7 separate regions of the Homo sapiens genome follow, and all the other regions are linked to region 1. Evidence: promoter capture Hi-C in 16 types of primary human blood cells and fetal thymus (Javierre and others, 2016). All regions are on one chromosome and are shown on one strand. Each heading gives the region's core, a stretch centred on a gene start or on the middle of the fragment in contact. The rest is flanking DNA. Distances are from core to core; before and after follow the strand shown.

Region 1 (2,700 bases), core at 99-2,598:
CCAACCCAAATGTCCATCAGTGATAGAGTGGATTAAGAATATGTGGCACATATACACCATGGAATACTATGCAGCCATAAAAAAAGGATGAGTTCATGTCCTTTGCATGGACATGGATGAAGCTGGAAACCATCATTCTCAGCAAACTGTCACAAGGACAGAAAACCAAACACCGCCATGTTCTCACTCATAGATGGGAACTCAACAATGAGAACACTTGGACACAGGGAGGGGAACATCACACACTGGGGCCTGTCGTGGGGAGTGAGATGGGGGGAGGGATAGCATTAAGAGAAATACGCAATATAAATGACGAGTTAGTCGGTGCAGAAAACCAACATGGCACATGTATAGCTATGTACCAAACCTGCACGTTGTGCACATGTACCCTAGAACTTAAAAAAAAAAAAAAAATCAATTCCCAAAGCATTTCTCTCATTTCTTCTGAAAAGTTTCTAAAAACACAACTCCAAGGATGAAATGGAAGTTAAAGGTAAACAGGCAATAGCGCTGAATACGTAATTTCAGTAACTCAGAATTTTCTCCAACCTCTGCTCTAAAGAAGCTTAGCTACAGAAGAGCAGTTACCTTTGAAACATTTTCCCCAACATAAAGATATCCGGAATGTGAAGCTGCCATTAAAACTGTGACACAGATCTACATTTACTGATACATCAAAACATCCCTAAAGTTCGAAATACGAGCTACAGAATCACATCAACCGCCTAACTTGTCTGTAGCCTAAACTCTAGTCCGGAGTTCATCTGCAAGCGGAATTGGGAAGTATTTCAGAGCCAGCATCTCCTCGCGCCATCCAGGTACCTACACACTTGAGGCCACCGAGTCACCTGCGCAGCCGTTGCTCCTCCAAGACCAATCCGGGCTCCCCAGACCCACCGGCCTGAATCTGGAGGACAGCAGTCCGCGTGACAACAGCGACTCGGAGATCAGCACCCGTCGGGAAAGCCGCGTACCCGTTGAAGCTGGCGTCACGCCCAAAGGAACAAACGCCAGAGCGTGTGTCCTGGGCAAAGGCGGCCCGCCGCTCCGGTCCCCGGGCAGCAGCGGCCGGCGTCAGGCCGCAAGGCGAGGGGCGGGGACAGGACTCTACCCGGCAGCCCAGCGCCGAGCGCCCGCGCCACTCCGGCCTTGCGCCATTCCGGCCCCACGACGGCCGGCGGCGGCAGCGCGGCTGGGCTCAGCGGCTCGCAGCCCGGGCGCCCCCCCTGCCGGCCGCTCGCTAGCTCAGCCTCACCCGCAGTCTTGTCCGCTGGCTCGCTCGCCCGCCTACAGGTCGACAGGGCCCAACGACCCGGCGAGCAACTTCACGGAAGGCACTGGCCGACAACGCTCCGCTGCCGCCGCGCCCCGCCCCTTTGTGACACCACCTACCAATCGCTGGACGGCGCTTTCGCTGCCCTCCAATCAGCGCGGGCGGGGGCAGGCCTGGCCCCCGGACGTGGGCGGTTGCCGGGGCGCCAGGGCCCTGGGGCCTTCTTGGCATTCGCTGGAGGTTGTGAGTTACGAGGCCCGGATGTTGATCTTTTATTACTAGCAACACTGGACCCCTGACTCGTGCCCACGCGGGCGTCTGGAGGGCAGCCGCATGGCCTGCTGGGAACGGCGGGGTTGAAGCCGGAGCCGCCCTCCGTGAGACCCACCGGGGATCCTCTTCCAGGCGCCTGATTTGCTGGAGATAGGCGATACAGGCAGACGCTGTCCAGTCGGTGGCCTCTCCAGAGTGAGGGGCGCTCCTGGTGCGTTTGGGCCGGCCTGTCCTAACAAATCTGCTTTAGGCTTCACCGTCCCCTAATGTTTCTGGCCTCAATTGCCTCATCTGGAAAATGGGGGCATTACCGTGCCTGCTTGAAGACAAAGGCGAAAACAGATAACTTTCTGTAGTCCTCATACAATTTACTGAGAACTGTAGGCCAGGCAATGGAGTAGGCACCCTGGGCTCAAATCCCAGCGTTGGGTAAGCCCAGCCACACCTCCTGCTCCAGTTTCCAAGCTGCTGAGCTGCGGTGTAAACAGTAACTGGCTTCAAGCCAACACCTGCCTTTCAACCTAACATGGGAGCCCACTGCCTCGTTCCGTTCCCCCTACCGATTTTCCAACTCCGTGAACCTCCTTCACTAAGTGGGTTACTCAGCTGACAAAGAATGTCATCTCACTCCCACTGCGGGTTCACTCATCCTCGACTTCTGGCTCAGAGGAGCCAGTCTAATATGAAACTAAACATCTAATCTGTGTCTCCTGTCCTCTCTCATTCTTCTGAGACCCTACCCACCAACTTATCTCCACAGTTCAACGAACTATTGAGCATACACTGGGGGAGTATGGTGAGGCACTGGGCATTGATTCACCAGTCTCGCCGTTGGTTCCTTCTGAAACTCCACATATGCTTAATGCTAAATAGATTGGAGACCTTTGAGGACAGAGCTATGATGGTAATCATCTTTGCATTCCTGAGCCTAGAATAGGGCCTGTGATGGAGACTTACTGAGTAAAAACCTTAGCGTTTCTCACCCTTGCCTGCCCACTTCATTCACACTGGAGAATTGACAGCATGGACCGTGGAGTCAGGCAGGTGTGTTTAAAGCCTTGCCTCCCAATACCAGAAGCTCCATTACCTGGCCAAGTCATTCATTCTTTACAACATCATCATCATTATCATCTGCCATTCTTCAAGTGCCAGAT
Region 2 (2,700 bases), core at 200-2,699, 390 kb before region 1:
AAATTCTTGATTTAAATAAGCAAACTCAAGAGTTTCAGCCTTCTTTAGAAGCCTGGACCAAATTTCAGCAAGGTCTGGAGAGCCTCAATCCTCGGGCCTATCTAAAGCACCACATTAACATCTCATATATAGTTCTGGGAATAATGCTGTTATGTCTCTTGTTTTCTGTTCACAGTCTGTAAAATTAGATGGTCCACAAGTTGGAAAATGAGAGCTGTCCAGCCTGGTGTTACATTCATTCAATTAATGCAAAAACAGAAAGGGAGAGATGTTGGGAGCCAAGAGCCTGAGGGTCATGACCAACTCAGCATTCCACTGGAGGCTATATGATCAAACAGCAAACTGTTTATCATGAATGCAGGATGTGGGCAAACTCACATCTGCACCTGCTGCCAGAAGGTATGCTGAGGGCAATCACTCCCTGGTGCTGTGCTCCTGGGTGCCATGCCCCTTAAAGTTATCTACTGGAACATCTAGAGCCTACTGTTCTAAGAAGGCAGTCATGCAGGCCTGCACTAAATCAAGCAGCTGACCAACAACTGCCCCCTGCTCCATATCTCTTTTACTCAATAAATATGAAGGGCTCTAGAAGCCCAGGGCACTTATTCACTAGAAGCAAGGAGCCCCCTGACCCCTTCATCCAAACATACTCTTTTGTCTTTGTCTTTATTCCTGCATTCATCCTCCTTTGTTCAGTCCACCAGGGTCTGCAGCACCTGAGGGCTTTGAGGGCTCACTGCAGGGTAGCCCCAGCCTGAGCCTTGAAGTCCCCTTCAGATTAATTGTCCTCCCCACACAAATTGCTCAAAAATTGCTCAAAAAAAGGAGACAAGATGGGGTGGGTGCAGTGGGATGAGCAGCTGCTGTCCACTGCTTCCTGGGTTGCAACACAGCCTCTACCCCCAACACCCATCCCAGGTTTCAGCACCAAATGTAAGAGTTAAAGAAAGAGGAAAGAAACACAAAAAGTGGCTCAACAGTCAAAGACAGGTTTATTTTGGAGAATAAACCTGAGAGGGCCTTCTGACCGATTTCAGTCAGGAACACTCTCTCTTACAGACTAAGAGTATTTATTGGTTTTAGGGTGAGGAGAAGTCTATTGTGGGATTGGAATATCTCTGGTTGGAGAGGAGGTTATCTCAGGGCTGACATCTCTCCAGCCAGAGGGGAGGTTATCTCAGGGCTGGCATGTCTCTGGTCTGGGAGGAGTTTACCTTATGGTTGGAATGTTTCTGGTCAGAGATGTCATTTGTGGTTTATGGTCATGCTGACCTTAGCCATTAGGCTGATGCTTTTTGGATTTAGGCAGTTTTTAATCAAGGTGAACTTTAAAATGGTGGTGCTTGTCCAAGATGGTGATGCTCCTGCTCTGTTATCCATCACAACTGTTTCAGTACTGACTGAGTGGTTAAGTTAAATATAAAAAGCTAAAAAAGCCAGTGCCCTTATACAAAGGCTGGAATGTAGCAAAAGTCCATCAAGAGTTTTGCCTAGGCCTTTCCTGGGCCTTAAAGCATGATAAAGTAACAAAGAAATTCTTAGCAGGACCCCCTTAGGATTAAACAAGTTTTATTAGGGGTCTGAAGAAACTCCACAGGCTTCCACAATCAAGTTTATTGGAGGTCTGAAGTAACTTCCCAAACCCCCGTGATTTAGCAAGAGACAAGATAAGGGTAATCACCCGAGCACCTAGACCCATTTAGATTAAGTAAACTTAATGAGGCTGTAGAAGAAGGTCTTCAGGATGACCTTCAGCCATGAAAAGAACATGCCACAGGTAGCCTCAGATCTAAGCATGAAAAGACACATGGAACACTTACATGTAGACATATAGCTTGGAAGGTATATAGCTCTGAAAAACTTTGTAATTTTGAGTTGGTCTGGTGAAAATTTCTGGGCCTTCTCCCTGTAACTGGTTGCAAAAAATAAAACTCTCTTCCTCCCGAGTTCATCTGCATCTCATTATTGGCAGCAGGAAATAGCAGCCCAACCCTCAGTTTGGTCCAGGAACACTCCTGCCTTAGCGTCCCGAGTAGCTGGGATTAAAGGCATGTGCCCAGCTCACTGCTACACTCCCACTAGTGCCATGACAGTTTACAATGTAGGGATGTAAACTGTCATGGCACTAGTGGGAGTGTAGCAGTGAGGACAACCAGAGGTCACTATCATCGCCATCTTGGTTTTGGTGGGATTTAGCCAGCTTCTTTACTGCAAGTTTTATTAGCAAGCTCATTATGAGCTGTATCTTTGTGCTAGCCTCCTATCTTATCCTGTGTCTTAGAATGCCTAATTATCTGGGAATGCAGCCTATAGGTTTTAGCCTTATTTTACCCAGCTGCTACTCAAGATGGAGTTGCTCTGGTTCAAATGCTTCTAACAAACTCAAGCATTTTTTTATGCTGAATTCAATTCTTAAAGCAGAGCTTAACTCTTTCAACCAACTGCCTGTCAGAGAATCTTTGAATCCACTTATGACCATGAATCTCCACCCTCTTTGCTTCAAGATGTCTCACCTTTCTGGGCCAAACCAACATATACCTTATGTATATTGATTTATGTCTTTGCCTGTAACTTCTCTCTCCCTAAAATGTATAAAACCAAGCTGTAACCCAACTACTTTAGGCACATGTTTTTAGGACTTCCTGAGGCTGTGCATGGGTCAAGGTCTTTAATCTTGGCCAAATAAACCTCTAAATTGAT
Region 3 (2,700 bases), core at 1-2,500, 370 kb before region 1:
GGTTTCTGGGACTATCAGGTGACTCTCCATCCACAGCTTCATGTGATTTCAGAGCTAGAGAGATAAACAAGAGGTGTCCTGAGGAAGGCTGCTCCCGTGTTTCTTCCACACCTCACATCACTGCATGAAAGATAGAGATGCATTAGGGCATATTGATTAAGATAAACACCCCAATATTACAGTAGAAAAAAGGCGTGAACACTCAGTTTATAAAAAATAAATACAGTTGGCCAGTTAAACTCATGAAGCATCATTCAACCTCAAACAAATGCAAATTAAATCCATGATCTAGTCTTCATCATCCATGATCTGGCAAAGTTAGAAAAGCATGATATTAACTAGCATTAGAATGGCTGCAAAGATGCAGGCCTTTTAAAATATGTATTCCATTTGAGCCGGAACTTCCTCTTCCAGAAATGTATCCTAAGGAATAATAAAAAGCATCCTGAAGGTGTCAGAGCAGCACTATTTATAATAGTGGAAATTTAAAACAATCTATACCCTTAAACGTGAGTATATTATGGTAAATTGATATAAATGCTGTCTAATTATCAAAGTAATGCTTTGGAAGTGTTTTACTGATGCTTTTAAAAGGAGAATGACACTTTGGGAGGCCGAGGCAGGCAGATCACTTGAAGCCAGGAATTCAAGACCAGCCTGTCCAAAATGGTGAAACCCCATTCTCTACTAAAAATACAAAAATTAACCTGACACGGTGGTGGTGGATGTCTGTAATCCCAGCTACTTGGAAGGCTGAGGCAGGAGAATCGCTTGAACCTGGGAGGCAAGGTTTCGGTGAGCTGAGACCACGATGCTGCACTCTAGCCTGGGCGACAGAGTGAGACTGTCTCAAAAAAAATTGTTTTAATTTTAAAAAAAGGAAAGAATGAAAAAAAATTTAAAATAATGTGTACAATAGGATCTCATTTTTAAAAAAAAAATTAAAAAAGCAGATTTGTTTCCACTGATATTGAGGATAGTGAAAAATTTAAAATAAAAATAAAATGTAAAAGCATGTTTGTATATGCACCTGTAGGAAAAACACTGGTGAGTGCTAGACCAGAGCTTGAACAGTGATTGTTTTCACTTTTTAAATTTTTGCTGGTCTGTATTTTCTACTTTTTCTATAAAATGACCTCTCTAAAAGGCAGATGTATCACACAGAATCCTCCTTACAACAGTTCTTCCATGGCTTCCCATTGCCAAAAGAATAAATGCTCCCAGCAACTTTTCCTGGATCCACCTCCTCTCCAGCCTTTCTTCCCACTCATCTTAAAGCCAGAACTCCAGCCATGCCCTGCACTCACAGACTGGCTGATGCACCAAGCCATTCCAGGATTTCTTGGTTTTGTTCTTCCCACTCCCTGAGCCAGGAATGCCCTTTTTCTCATGAACCAGGGACATAATCAGCCCCCTCTTTCTGAGCATCCCTTCCCTGGGGAGAAAGTACCACTCTTTCCTTTGTGTTTCCTCTGATACTGACTTCTATCCTAGTACACAATACACGTCACTCCTTGATCAGGTTACTGGACTGTGCCCTAAAAGATTAACACATATGCCCGTTTATCTCTGGACATCCCTTCTTGGCACCCAGCCCCCTGCCTAGCAGGCAGTGTGTAGACACTCAAATATGTGTGTTTAAATAATGCTAAAGAATAGGCTAGTATGAATAACAGCAGAATGACTTATATTCTTAAGTTACTGCACATTCTGTACAGCTCAAGATAAAATCAGCATAGTGCACATTTGGTTTTTCCCTTTCAACTCTTTATTCATTAAAAGTTAAGGAAGAGGCTGGGCGTGGTGACTCACGCCTGTAATCCCAGCACTTTGGGAGGCCGTGGAGGGTGGATCAGAAGGTCAGGAGATCGAGACCTTCCTGGCTAACACGGTGAAACCCCGTCTCTACTAAAAATACAAAAATTAGCCGGGCGTGGTGGCGGGCGCCTGTAGTCCTAGCTACTCTGGAGGCTGAGGCAGGAGAATGGCGTGAACCCGGGAGGCGGAGCTTGCAGTGAGCCGAGATCGCGCCACTGCACTCCAGCCTGGGTGACAGAGCGAGACTCCGTCTCAAAAAAAAAAAAAAAAGTTAACGAAGATATTCATTTTAAAAATGAACATTTGGAAGATGTTTGTTTTAAAAATGAACATTTGGAAGATGTCCATTTTAAATATGTTCATTTTAATTATGTTTTTGTCAAGATTCAAGAAATGTATTTACCACTAAAATATTAAAAGGTTTACACAAAATGACCAAACATCATCTCCAGCTCAGGTCATATCACCTTTTAATAAGGTAAAAACTGTTTTTTGAATAGGCAAGCATAAAATCCCTATGACTCAGAGCAATAAGGCTATATTAGCGTGGGGTATGATCAGAATCAATGGAAATGATGGTGTTCCATCTGTGTATCTTCCCAGCAACAAGGTGTCAGAACAGCTCAATAACTTGAGTGGAAGTAATAAATACAATATGCTTTAGCTGATTTCATTATTGTTTGGGACAAAAAGAGTGAATAATTACTTTCGCTGAGTTTGAGTTGTGGATCTGAAGAAATAACTGTAACTTTATTTGCTCTTATGATGGCCCAGTGAGTGACTCCTCTTTAACTCCAGGGACAGAATTGGATTTTCTCCATCAATGTCCCAGTGTGAGGTTTCTGCACTTCCGACTCATGTCCTCCTCCCTAGAATTCTAGC
Region 4 (2,700 bases), core at 62-2,561, 460 kb before region 1:
TATTGGTAGAATGCAAAATAGTACAGCCACTTGAGATGACAGTTTGATAGTTTCTTCCAAAGCTAAACATAGTCTTATCACATGATCCAGTAATCACATTCCTAGGTATTCACCCAAAATCTGCACAAGAATGTTTACAACAGCTTTATTCATAATTGTCCAAATTTAAAAGCTGCCAAAATGTCATCCAACAGGTGAATGGATAAGCACAGTGTGGTACATCCAGACAACTGAGTATTATTCACTGCTAAAAAGAAATGAGTTATCAAACCACAAAAGGCATGGAGGAATCTTAAATGCATATTGCTAAGCAAAAGTAGCCAATCTGTAAAGACCTTATACTGTATGATTCCAACTATATGACATTCTGGAAAGGGTAAAATTATAGAGACAAAGGCAAACTGTAATATTTCAGTGGTTGTCTGAGATTTAGGAGGTAGATAATGAGGGAGAGGGGATGAAGAGGTAGAGCTGAGAGGATTTTTAGGGCAGTGAAACTGTTCCATATGATACTGTAATGGTGAATACATGATGTTAATTTGTCAAAACCCATAAAACTATACTATATAGAGTGAATCTTGATGTTAGCTATAAACTTTAGTTAATAATAATGCATCAACAGCCAGGCCAACATGGTGAAACCCCGTCTCTACTAAAAATCAAAAAAAAAAATGAGCTGGGCGTGATAGCGCATACCTGTAATCCCAGCTACTTGGGAGGCTGAGGCAGGAGAATCACTGGAACCTGGGAGGCAGAAGTTGTAGTGAGCCGAGATCGCACCATTGCGCTCCAGCCTGGGTGACAGAGCGAGACGCTGTTTCAAAAATAAAAATAAAAACAATAATGCATCAATATTGGTTCAGCAATCATAGCAAATGTAACACACCAATGCAAGATGTTAATATGGAAAACTAGGAAGGGGAGATGGAGGAGAGATGTGAATCTGTACTTCCTGCTCCAGTTCTCTGTAAATCAAAAAGTGCTCTTAAAAAAAAAGCCTATTTTTTTTCAAAGAGGGAGAATGAAGATAGCATATGCATAAAACAATTGTTTTTAGCAATACTGACATTAGTAAAATTAGTATTGTTAATTGTGTGTTGGGTACCAAACACGTGATTGTGAGATGTTCTAATTCTATCATCACCAAAATCTGTGAGAGGCAGGGTTCTGAGAGGAAGGGAGAAGGCCCAGATGAGGCATAGAAGGAGTTAAATAAAAGCTTTGCAGTCTGTTATGTATTTCCATTGGAACTACCAGTATAAGCTCACGATGCTGGCAGTCTCATGACTTAAAGGGAGAGTGATTGGGAAGAGCAGGAGCTCCCAACCTACTAACGTTTCTTGCTTTGAAAATCTGTCAACTTGTACTGTCATATATGCACTTATCTATGTGAATACTTCAGTAAAGCTTTTTGGAGTAGGATTTTTTAAAAACTATGTGTAAGTATTTTCAGAAGATGAAGGTTCCTGTTTCCTTGGTTCAAATGGTATCAAGATAGGTAGGTTGCGTCCCTGAATGCATTCCTAAATTGATACAGAATCATTAGCCCAGACAGGGTAGCTACCATAGCTTCTAGAACATGACCAGATGGCCACAGGCACTCAGCGTGCTCGCTGAATTAGCTGTTCATCTTCTTCTCTTCCACAGGGTATGTGTATATGACTGTCAGAAATGAGTAAGGCGAAACAGGATAAGCTAAGAACACTGCTTCTGAAGTCTGCTGGTGTGGGTTCAAATCTGGGCTCTACCACTTATTTTCTGGGTGACTTTGAGCAAGTTAATGAAGCTCTCTAAATCTGTTTCCTTACCTATTAGATAATAACAATTAAACTGTGAGGTTTGAAAGATTAATCCATACAGAGGGCTTAGCACAATGCCTGGGACATAGTAAATGTGTGTGTGTATTAATACACCCCATGCATATATGGCATGTTATTTCGATCATATTATCTATTATTTTCATCCTCCTAACAAAGGGTGAACAACTTTATAGAATACAAATATATAATAAATCATATAGGTATCTTTGACACGGCCTAAAGACTTAAGCACTTACAGCTGTTTTATTATTTGTTCATTTATTTTGAAACAGAGTCTCACTCTTGTCACCCAGGTTGGAGTGAAATGGCGTGATCTTAGCTCACTGTAGCCTCCATCTCTCGGGTTCAAGTGATTCTCCTGTCTCAGCCTCCCAAGCAGCTCGGATTACAGGCATGGGCCATCATGCACAGCTAATTCTCATATTATTAGTAGAGACGGGGTTTCACCATGTTGGTCAGGGTGGTCTCAAACTCCTGACCTCAGGTGATCCACCCACCTTGGCCTCCCAAAGGGCTGGGATTGCAGGTGTGAGCCACTGCACCCGGCCTCACTTACAGCTGTTAAGAAAACCAAGTTACATAGACTACCATTCAAATATTGAGATTGCAAACCATATTACCATTCTCTGGTCTGCACTATGTCCTGAAAAACCATGAGGCCAAACCCCCGTTGCAAGTAATTGCCCGTTCTGATGTGTGCCTTTCATTTGACCTCACCCTTAAAATTATAAGCTACACAGAGTCCAAAGGAATAATTAATGTATATGCAGAGAAATAGATGAAATAAAAAGGATATTTATGAGGTATGGGTACTATAACTAAAACTACCATTTAATGTAATTCGCGTTTATTCTGTTTGATACATGAACCAATATTTCCC
Region 5 (2,700 bases), core at 142-2,641, 350 kb before region 1:
TTCGTTAGTGCGTGTGTGTCTGTGTGTTCAGAAATTTTGAATATTTTATGTGATAACATTAACAAGGCTTTTCTATTGAGGGTTTCAGCTTTTCTGTCTTGCTAAGAAACACCTTCTTTACTCTAGAATGTTAAAAATACTTAGTGTTTTTACATAATACATTTAAGGTCTAATATTTTATACGTAAAAGTATGAATCAGCAGCTCCTCAAAAATTTAACAGAGAATTACCATACTTATTCAGCAATTTCACTTCTGGGTATTACCCAAAGAGTTGAATACAGGAACTCAACATGTTGATGGCAGCAATATTCATGATAGCTAAAATATGGAAGCAACCCAAGTTTCTATTGATGGATAAATGGATAAATAAAAGGTAATATATCTATACAATGCAATATTATTCAGCTTTAAAAAGGAAGGAAATTCTGACACATGCCACAACATGAATGAAACTTAAAGACATTAGGCTTAGTGAAATAAGTCAGTCACATATTTTTCTTCCCTCCCACCTCCTCTAAACCATTGAACAAGTATAGACAGTACTATACTGCTCACAAAGGTGGCTTAACAATTAAATTTCTAAAAGACAGTATTTCCTATGAATTTTAGCAAAAAGATATTTACAAAGTGGTATTTTATTACCTCTACATTTAACGTACATCAGGCACTTCTAAACATCTAGATAAACTAGGTGTTTCAAGTAAGGAGTTAATTTGTCCACTATATACACAGCAGTCTCGAATAAACTGCATACATGTAACCATAGTTATAATTTGAAAGAGTCTTCCAAATAAGAACATCCTAGCTTAGAATCCCTCCCATCTCCATCAACTCAGTGCGCAAGAATGCTCAAAGATAGGAAGACAATCTTTCCTAGGAATTTTAAAACAAAATATACAAAATATATTAGTTTACTAACTCTACTTTTGTTATACACTGGCAACCTCTTTAACATCTAAAAAGACTAGATGTTGTAAATTAGGACTCGTTTGTCCTTTATATACACTACATAAACAGATAAGTAAAACAAAATGCACAGACATAAGAGATAATGGTTAATCTTGCCTCACTGTAAACACAGCGGCATAGAGCTCTCTGCACTTTCCCCTCCTTCCTCCTCCCCTGAACCAGGACACAAACACGATGAGTATTACTCAACAGGTAGTTTGGCCATTCCCCTCCAAAAACAACATTTCATATGAATTTTAGCAAAAAGATATTTACAAAATATTATTTTACTACCGCTAATTTTGACATATATTAGGCATTCGGAACACATAGAAAGAATACACAAAAAAGTTTAGCATTGTCAACTATATATACAATAGTGAGGAATAAAATGCACACAAAACAATGGATAGAATATGAAAATGTCTAAATATCACAAGTCTGGTATAGAACCTTCTTTTTCTTCTCAGGCTTTCCAGATCCATGTCCCCTAACCCACTGAACAGATATAGACATATCCCTTACAGAGGTGATCTAACGACTCTATTTTAAAAAGTCATCTCCAAAAAACATCTAATTTGTATGATTTCTTTTTAAACAAATGAGAATTTACAAGATGTGTGATTTTCTAATTCTATCATATGTCAGCAACCTCTTTCCATCTAGAAAGACTGAATGTGGCAAATGTTCTCTTTTATTTTTTTAATCTCTTTTAACTTATTTATTTTTATTTTTCTTATTATACTTTAAATTCTGGGGTACATGTGCAGAATGTGCAGGTTTGTTACATAGATATACATGTGCCATGGTGGTTTGTTGCACCCATCAACCTGTCATCTACATTAGGTATTTCCCCTAATGCTATCCCTCCCCAGCCCCCCATAGCCCAACAGGCCCCAGTGTGTGATACCCCCCCAACCCGTGTCCATGTGTTCTCATTGTTCAACTCCCACTTATGAGTGAGAACATGTGGTGTTTGGTTTTCTGTTCTTGTGTTAGTTTGCTGAGAATGATGGTTTCCACCTTCATCCATGTCTCTGCAAAGGACATGAGCTCATCATTTTTCATGGCTGCATAGTATTCTGTGGTGTATATGTGCCAGATTTTCTTTATCCAGTCTATCATTGATGGGCATTTGGGTTGGTTCCAAGTCTTTGCTATTGTGGTATTTCTAGTTCTAGATTCTTGAGGAATCACCACACTGTCTTCCACAATGGTTGAACTAATTTCCACTCCCACCAACAGTGTAAAAGTGGTCCTATTTCTCCACATGCTCTCTAGTATCTGTTGTTTCTTGACTTTTTAATGATGGCCATTCTAACTGGCATGAAATGGTATCTCATTGTGTTTTTGATTTGCACTTCTCTAATGACCAGTGATGATGAGCTTTTTTTCCTATGCTTGTTGACTGCATAAATGTCTTCTTTTGAGAAGAGTCTTTTCTTATCCTTCACCCACTTTTTGATGGAATTGTTTGTTTTTTCTTGTAAATTTGTTTAAGTTCTTTGTAGATTCTGGATATTAGCCCTTTGTTAGATGGATAGATTGCAAAAATGTTCTCCCATTCTGTTGGTTGCCTGTTCACTCTGATGGTAGTTACTTTCGCTGTGCAGAAGCTCCTTAGTTTAATTAGATCCCATTTGTCAATTTTGGCTTTTGTTGCCATTGCTTTTTGTGTTTTAGTCATGAAGTCTTTGCCCATGCCTATGTCCTGAATGGTATTACCTATGTTTTCTTTTAGGGTTTTTAT
Region 6 (2,700 bases), core at 61-2,560, 430 kb before region 1:
ACAGGGTTTGGCAGCAGAGTACTTGCCAAGTAATGGTGAATTGCTGTTACTTCCATTTCTCACCTTTAGGAAGGAGTCATTCATTATTAAACTTACACTTTCTTCTCCAATGTATATACATTACACTGTGAGACAATTTGAATGATGACACTTTTTGGAAAAGCTTTGTCTTTTTATATACATAAGAATGAAGGGTTTTCTGAAAATACATGCAGAAGTCATCTTCACTTGCAAAGGGGAAAAATGTTCCATGTGTAGATCAAAAAACATTTGTATTTGGATTCAGAAATATCTGTTAACCTGTAGCAATTAAAACATCAGGCTGCTTTTTTATATAATAGTTTTTGCTATGATCCTGCAGCCTTTGCTTTTGGGGAAACATTTGGAAGAATGTAGGTAAAGTGAATTTTTAAAGGGTGGGGATGGGTGGGGGCAATGTTGCCTGCCCTGTTTCCAGTCAACTATTATACATTTTTCATAGTGTGTGTGTGTGTGTGTATGAGTGCGCGCGCACACGGGTTTCCCATTGAAAATTACTTGGCTGTAAAGGGGCTACGAAGAAAATACAATGCAAAGTATAATAAAGTTCAGAACAAAAGGAATTTCTGTATGGGTGAAGGACAGAATTATAAATCTATACAACTTCTGACTGTTGTTAAACGTGTTTTAAAAACACATTCCGAGGCCTTGTTGCTTTTTTGTTTCAACTCCTCATTTTTGAATAGACACATATAAAAACAGGAAATGAGTTGGTGTTTTGAGGGAAGAGAGAACCACACTGTGAATTCAACCATTTTCTGTCCCCCAGCCTGGCTCCTACCCTGCATTCACAACTAGACCTGCTTCCAGGAGGGCTCTCGACGCTTCTAAAGGAAACGTTACACAGGCAATGTATGTTGGAACCAGCCTGACATGTAGAAATGCTGATTTTACTGATCCATGTATTCAAAACACTGGAAGTTCCTCTCTTCCCTTTGTAATTCCATGATTTAAAATTTGGTTAATTGCTGGTATCTTAAGTCACAGAGTTAAGACAGTCTAATCTTGCTGGGCTGTGTTGATCAGGTGAGATTCCTTTTAGGTCTATGTAGTAGCCCATGGGAGAGACTAATGCCTTTCTAGTGCTTCAGGGATTATTCTGCTAAGTGTTTAAATAAAGTAGACTTGCCATGACAGAGTAGCCAGTTATCCACTAGTAGATAGGAGGGCTGCCATATTTAAGACCTTCCAGCACCATACCCTTGAGTTTGGGTGTTTTCACCCAGGGGTCCTCTTTTAAAATGGCGTTGCTCTGAGAGGAGCAGTGAGATACTAATTTTCACGGACACTGCCAACAACTTGTCTTATTCACTTTCGTCTCCTAGGAGGAATGGGGCCACCGAGAGCAGCGGGCATCCCTGCGACATCAGAGGATCCTGGAAGGGGAGGTGAAGGCATGAAAACAATCGCAGATTCCAGGCATGGTCTAGAGCTCGGCCCTCACTTGGTAGTAACACAGAATCCTCAGTCAGACATTTCTGTTCCTACGGCAGTTCACAAGAATGGAATGCTGAGGCTTCCTGGTCCAGCTGCCAATAAACTATGCCCACAGTCTTCCCACCGAGAGCCAGACGGAGCTACATTTTACAGGCCTAAGCTGTGGTTTCCTTTCTTTGCTTATGGGACAGGAAGTTTCAGATCCATTCTACGGAGTAATGAAGGACAGCGAGGAGGAAGAGTTCTTACTGTCCATGGCTGGAAAGCAAGGCTTTGCTTCCCAGCATCTATCAGGCAAATGGCAAATGTTGACTCTGATCAATAATGGTCCATTCAAGCTGGAGTGAGTTAAGAGTTAGTTGCACTGTGACTCCAACCTAACGGGATTATTCCATCTTTCATCCAGATCCCACTCTCCTCATTCTTTCTGCTTTACACTTCATATAAATATATGGATCTCCGTGGTGGGGGAGGTACGTAGGTCCAAGTTGAGTAACCTGACCGGCACAAAGAATACTGTATTTGTCTCTTCGTTTCCTCCCTGCTACATACATCTTTTGGTTTCCTGTCATGGGAATATTCCTTTAGAAAAGGCATGAGCTTCCTCTGAGTGTTATTTATGAAACTACATGTTAAGGCTATTGATTAATAAAGGATTTAGATGAATTCCAAAGGGGAGAGCTTTCCAGGATGATAAAACTGCATCAAGAATCATGTTGAAGCTAAACCCATAGGCAAAGACCATGTGCCAGAACACCCTTCCTCACCAGGCCGGGCAGAAGGTGACAGCAGCCCTAGAAGCCAAATCAGATGAGGTGGGTTGCAGGTGAGAAAAGATGTTTTGTTGGGAACAAAGGCTGCAGCTACCAAGAAACTAGCAGCTGAACAGAAGCCCACTGGAAAGAATCCTCCCACAGAAGGAAAGAAGCCTGCTGCATACACCAGTACATTTGTTTATGCTACAAAGATCAAATCATCTTGGGAAGCTTATTTTGAATGAAGACCTGATCAAAGAGGCAGTGAGAAAAAAAAATAAAACAAAAAATACGACTCCAGATCAGGTGTAGAGGAACAAGCAAACTTTTTGGAAACCTTACTGAAGCCTCTTGTATGGTGAAACAAAGCCAGTTTAGAGAGCATCGGGATGAGGTTTAGATTTAAATTCCACTCTCAGAGGAATTCAGCATCCTTATCCTTTTGAGTCTCAGGTTCCACCTGAGTTTA
Region 7 (2,700 bases), core at 25-2,524, 400 kb before region 1:
CAAGGGATGTGAAGGACCTCTTCAAGGAGAACTACAAATCACTGCTCAATGAAATAAAAGAGGACACAAACAAATGGAAGAACACTCCATGCTCATGGGTAGGAAGAATCAATATCATAAAAATGGCCATACTGCCCAAGGTAATTTATAGATTCAGTGCTATCCCCATCAAGCTACCACAGACTTTCTTCACAGAATTGGAAAAAAAAAAAACACTTAAAAGTTCATATGGAACCAAAAAAGAACCCACATAGCCAAGACAATCCTAATCAAAAAGAACAAAGCTGGAGGCATCACGCTACCTGACTTCAAACTATACTACAAGGCTACAGTAACCAAAACAGCATGGTACCGGTAGAAAAACAGATATATAGACCAATGGAACAGAACAGAGGCCTCAGAAATAACACCACACATCTACAACCATCTGATCTTTGACAAACCTGACAAAAACAAGAAATGGGGAAAGGATTTCCTATTTAGTAAATGGTGCTGGGAAAACTGGCTAGCCATATGTAGAAAGCTGGAACTCAATGCTTTCTTTACACCATATACAAAAATTAACTCAAGATAGATTAAAGACTTAACTTTAAGACTTAACACTGTAAAAACCCTAGAAGAAAACCTAGGCAATACCATTCAGGACATAGGCATGGGCAAAGACTTCATGACTAAAACACCAAAAGCAATGGGAACAAAAGCCAAAATAGATGAATGGGATCTAACCAAACTAAAGAGCTTCTGCACAGCAAAAGAAACTACCATCAGAGTGAACAGGCAACTTACAGAATGGGAGAAAATCTTTGCAATCTACTCATCTGACAAAGGGCTAATATCCAGAATCTACAGAGAACTTAAATTTACAAGAAAAAAACAACCCCATCAAAAAGTGGGCAAAGAATATGAACAGACACTTCTCAGGAGAAGATATTTATGCAGCCAGCAGACGTATGAAAAAAGTGCTTATCATCACTGGTCATCAGAGAAATGCAAATCAAAACCACAATGAGATACCATCTCAGGCCAATTAGAATGGCAATCATTAAAAAGTGAGCAAACAACAGATGCTGGACAGGATGTGGAGAAATAGGAATGCCTTTACAATGTTGGTGGGTGTGTAAACTAGTTCAACCATTGTGGAAGACAGTGTGGTGATTCCTCAAGGATCTAGAACTAGAAATACCATTTGACCTAGCAATCCCATTACTGGGTATATACCCAAAGGATTATAAATCATGCAACTATAAAGACACATGCACATGTATGTTTATTGTGGCACTATACACAATAGCAAAGACTTGGAACCAACCCAAATGCCAATCAATGATAGAGTGGATAAAGCAAATGTGGCACATATACACTATGGAATAGTATGCAGCCATAGAAAAGGATGAGTTCATGTCCTTTGCAGGGACATGGATGAAGCTGGAAACTATCATTCTAAGCATATTGTCACAAGGACAGAAAACCAAACACCACATGTACTCACTCATAGGTGGGAGTTGAACAATGAGAACACATGGACACAGGGCAGGGAAAATCACACACTGGGGCCAGTCAAGGGGTGGTGGGCTGGGGGAGGGATAGCATTAGGAGAAATACCTAATGTAAATGACGAGTTGATGGGTGCAGCAAACCAACATGGCACATGTATACCTATGTAACAAACCTGCACGTTGTGCACATGTATCCTAGAACTTAAAGTATAATAAAATAAATAAATAAATAAATATAAAAAAGAGAAGCCCAGGACCTGATGGCTTCACAGTCGAATTCTACCAAACATTTAAAGAAGAACAAATACCAATCCTATTCAAACTATTTCAAAAAATATAGAGGAGGAAGGAATACTTCCACACTCATTCTACCAGGCCAGTATTACCTTGATATGAAACCAGACAAAAATGCATCAAAAAAAGAGAGAAAAGTACAGCCAATATGTCTGATGAATATTGATGCAAAAATCCTCAACAAAATACTAGCAAACTGAATTCAACAGCACATTAAAAAGATCTTTTCTCATGATGAAGTAGTATTTATCTCAGGGATACAAGGATGGTTCAAAATATGCAAATCAATTAATGTGACACATCATATTAACAGAATGGAGGACAAAAACATATGATCATGTCAATTGATGCTGAAAAGGATTTGATAAAATTTTAACATCCTTCATGATAAAAACCCTTTAAAAAACTGTCTATATAAGGAATATACCTTAACATAATAAAAGCCATAAATAACAGACACCCACAGGGTAGTATCATACTAAATGAGGAAAAACTGAAAATTTGTCTTCTAAGATGCAGACCAAGACAAGGCTGCCCACTGTCACAACCGTTATTCAACATATTACTGAAAGTCCTAGCTAGAGCAATCAGACAAGAGAAAGATATAAAGGGCATCCAAATTGGTGCTAGAGCAATTGTACTTTTATAGGCACACTCACACACACACATAAACACACACACACACATACACACATACATACACAAAAAAGAACTTCACCTGTCTCATATTTTATACAAAAGCTAACTCAAAAATAGTTTATGTTCTTAAATGTACAACATAAAATTGTAAAACTTTTAGAAAAAAAGAAAAAACTTCAAGATTTAGGGTCAGGTAAAGTGTTCTTACAAAACAGCATGATACATAAAAGGAAAAACTCATAAATTGGACTTCATCAAAATGTAAAACTTT

Evidence for each region. Contacts are between HindIII fragments. The CHiCAGO score rates a contact against its expected background, and 5 or more counts as called.
Region 2: a contact is called between a fragment that was not itself captured here and the fragment with the promoter of ZFAND4 in region 1, in 4 of 17 cell types (M2 macrophages, M0 macrophages, M1 macrophages and 1 more). The highest score is 9.2, in M2 macrophages.
Region 3: a fragment that was not itself captured here is called in contact with the fragment with the promoter of ZFAND4 in region 1 in 6 of 17 cell types (M0 macrophages, M2 macrophages, neutrophils and 3 more); the score reaches 14.0 in M0 macrophages.
Region 4: a fragment that was not itself captured here is called in contact with the fragment with the promoter of ZFAND4 in region 1 in 2 of 17 cell types (M1 macrophages and erythroblasts); the score reaches 6.5 in M1 macrophages.
Region 5: a contact is called between a fragment that was not itself captured here and the fragment with the promoter of ZFAND4 in region 1, in 1 of 17 cell types (M1 macrophages). The highest score is 5.1, in M1 macrophages.
Region 6: a contact is called between a fragment that was not itself captured here and the fragment with the promoter of ZFAND4 in region 1, in 12 of 17 cell types (M0 macrophages, M1 macrophages, neutrophils and 9 more). The highest score is 19.5, in M0 macrophages.
Region 7: a fragment that was not itself captured here is called in contact with the fragment with the promoter of ZFAND4 in region 1 in 7 of 17 cell types (total B cells, neutrophils, M2 macrophages and 4 more); the score reaches 8.0 in total B cells.

Annotation. Positions count from the first base shown.
Region 1 is chr10:45,671,424-45,674,123 of GRCh38, forward strand. ZFAND4 (zinc finger AN1-type containing 4) reads right to left here and starts at 1,349. Exons shown (of 10, transcript NM_174890.4): 1 at 827-1,349. RefSeq lists a silencer at 932-1,651. The HindIII fragment of the contact is 4,202 bases long and covers 564-2,700 here.
Region 2 is chr10:45,286,191-45,288,890 of GRCh38, forward strand. No RefSeq gene overlaps it. Among named protein-coding and RNA genes, the nearest start is that of OR13A1, 28 kb to the right of the region's middle. The HindIII fragment of the contact is 3,231 bases long and covers 1-2,700 here.
Region 3 is chr10:45,304,381-45,307,080 of GRCh38, forward strand. OR13A1 (olfactory receptor family 13 subfamily A member 1) reads right to left here. Exons shown (of 4, transcript NM_001004297.3): 4 at 1-54. The coding sequence starts at 42. Among named protein-coding and RNA genes, the nearest start is that of OR13A1, 9.9 kb to the right of the region's middle. The HindIII fragment of the contact is 4,346 bases long and covers 1-2,700 here.
Region 4 is chr10:45,214,961-45,217,660 of GRCh38, forward strand. LOC105378283 (a long non-coding RNA gene) reads right to left here. Exons shown (of 6, transcript XR_001747443.2): 3 at 697-814. Among named protein-coding and RNA genes, the nearest start is that of MIR3156-1, 52 kb to the left of the region's middle. The HindIII fragment of the contact is 188 bases long and covers 1,218-1,405 here.
Region 5 is chr10:45,325,058-45,327,757 of GRCh38, forward strand. No RefSeq gene overlaps it. Among named protein-coding and RNA genes, the nearest start is that of OR13A1, 11 kb to the left of the region's middle. The HindIII fragment of the contact is 5,116 bases long and covers 1-2,700 here.
Region 6 is chr10:45,238,313-45,241,012 of GRCh38, forward strand. It overlaps the pseudogene CUBNP2. Among named protein-coding and RNA genes, the nearest start is that of MIR3156-1, 76 kb to the left of the region's middle. The HindIII fragment of the contact is 2,299 bases long and covers 162-2,460 here.
Region 7 is chr10:45,270,231-45,272,930 of GRCh38, forward strand. No RefSeq gene overlaps it. Among named protein-coding and RNA genes, the nearest start is that of OR13A1, 44 kb to the right of the region's middle. The HindIII fragment of the contact is 3,844 bases long and covers 1-2,700 here.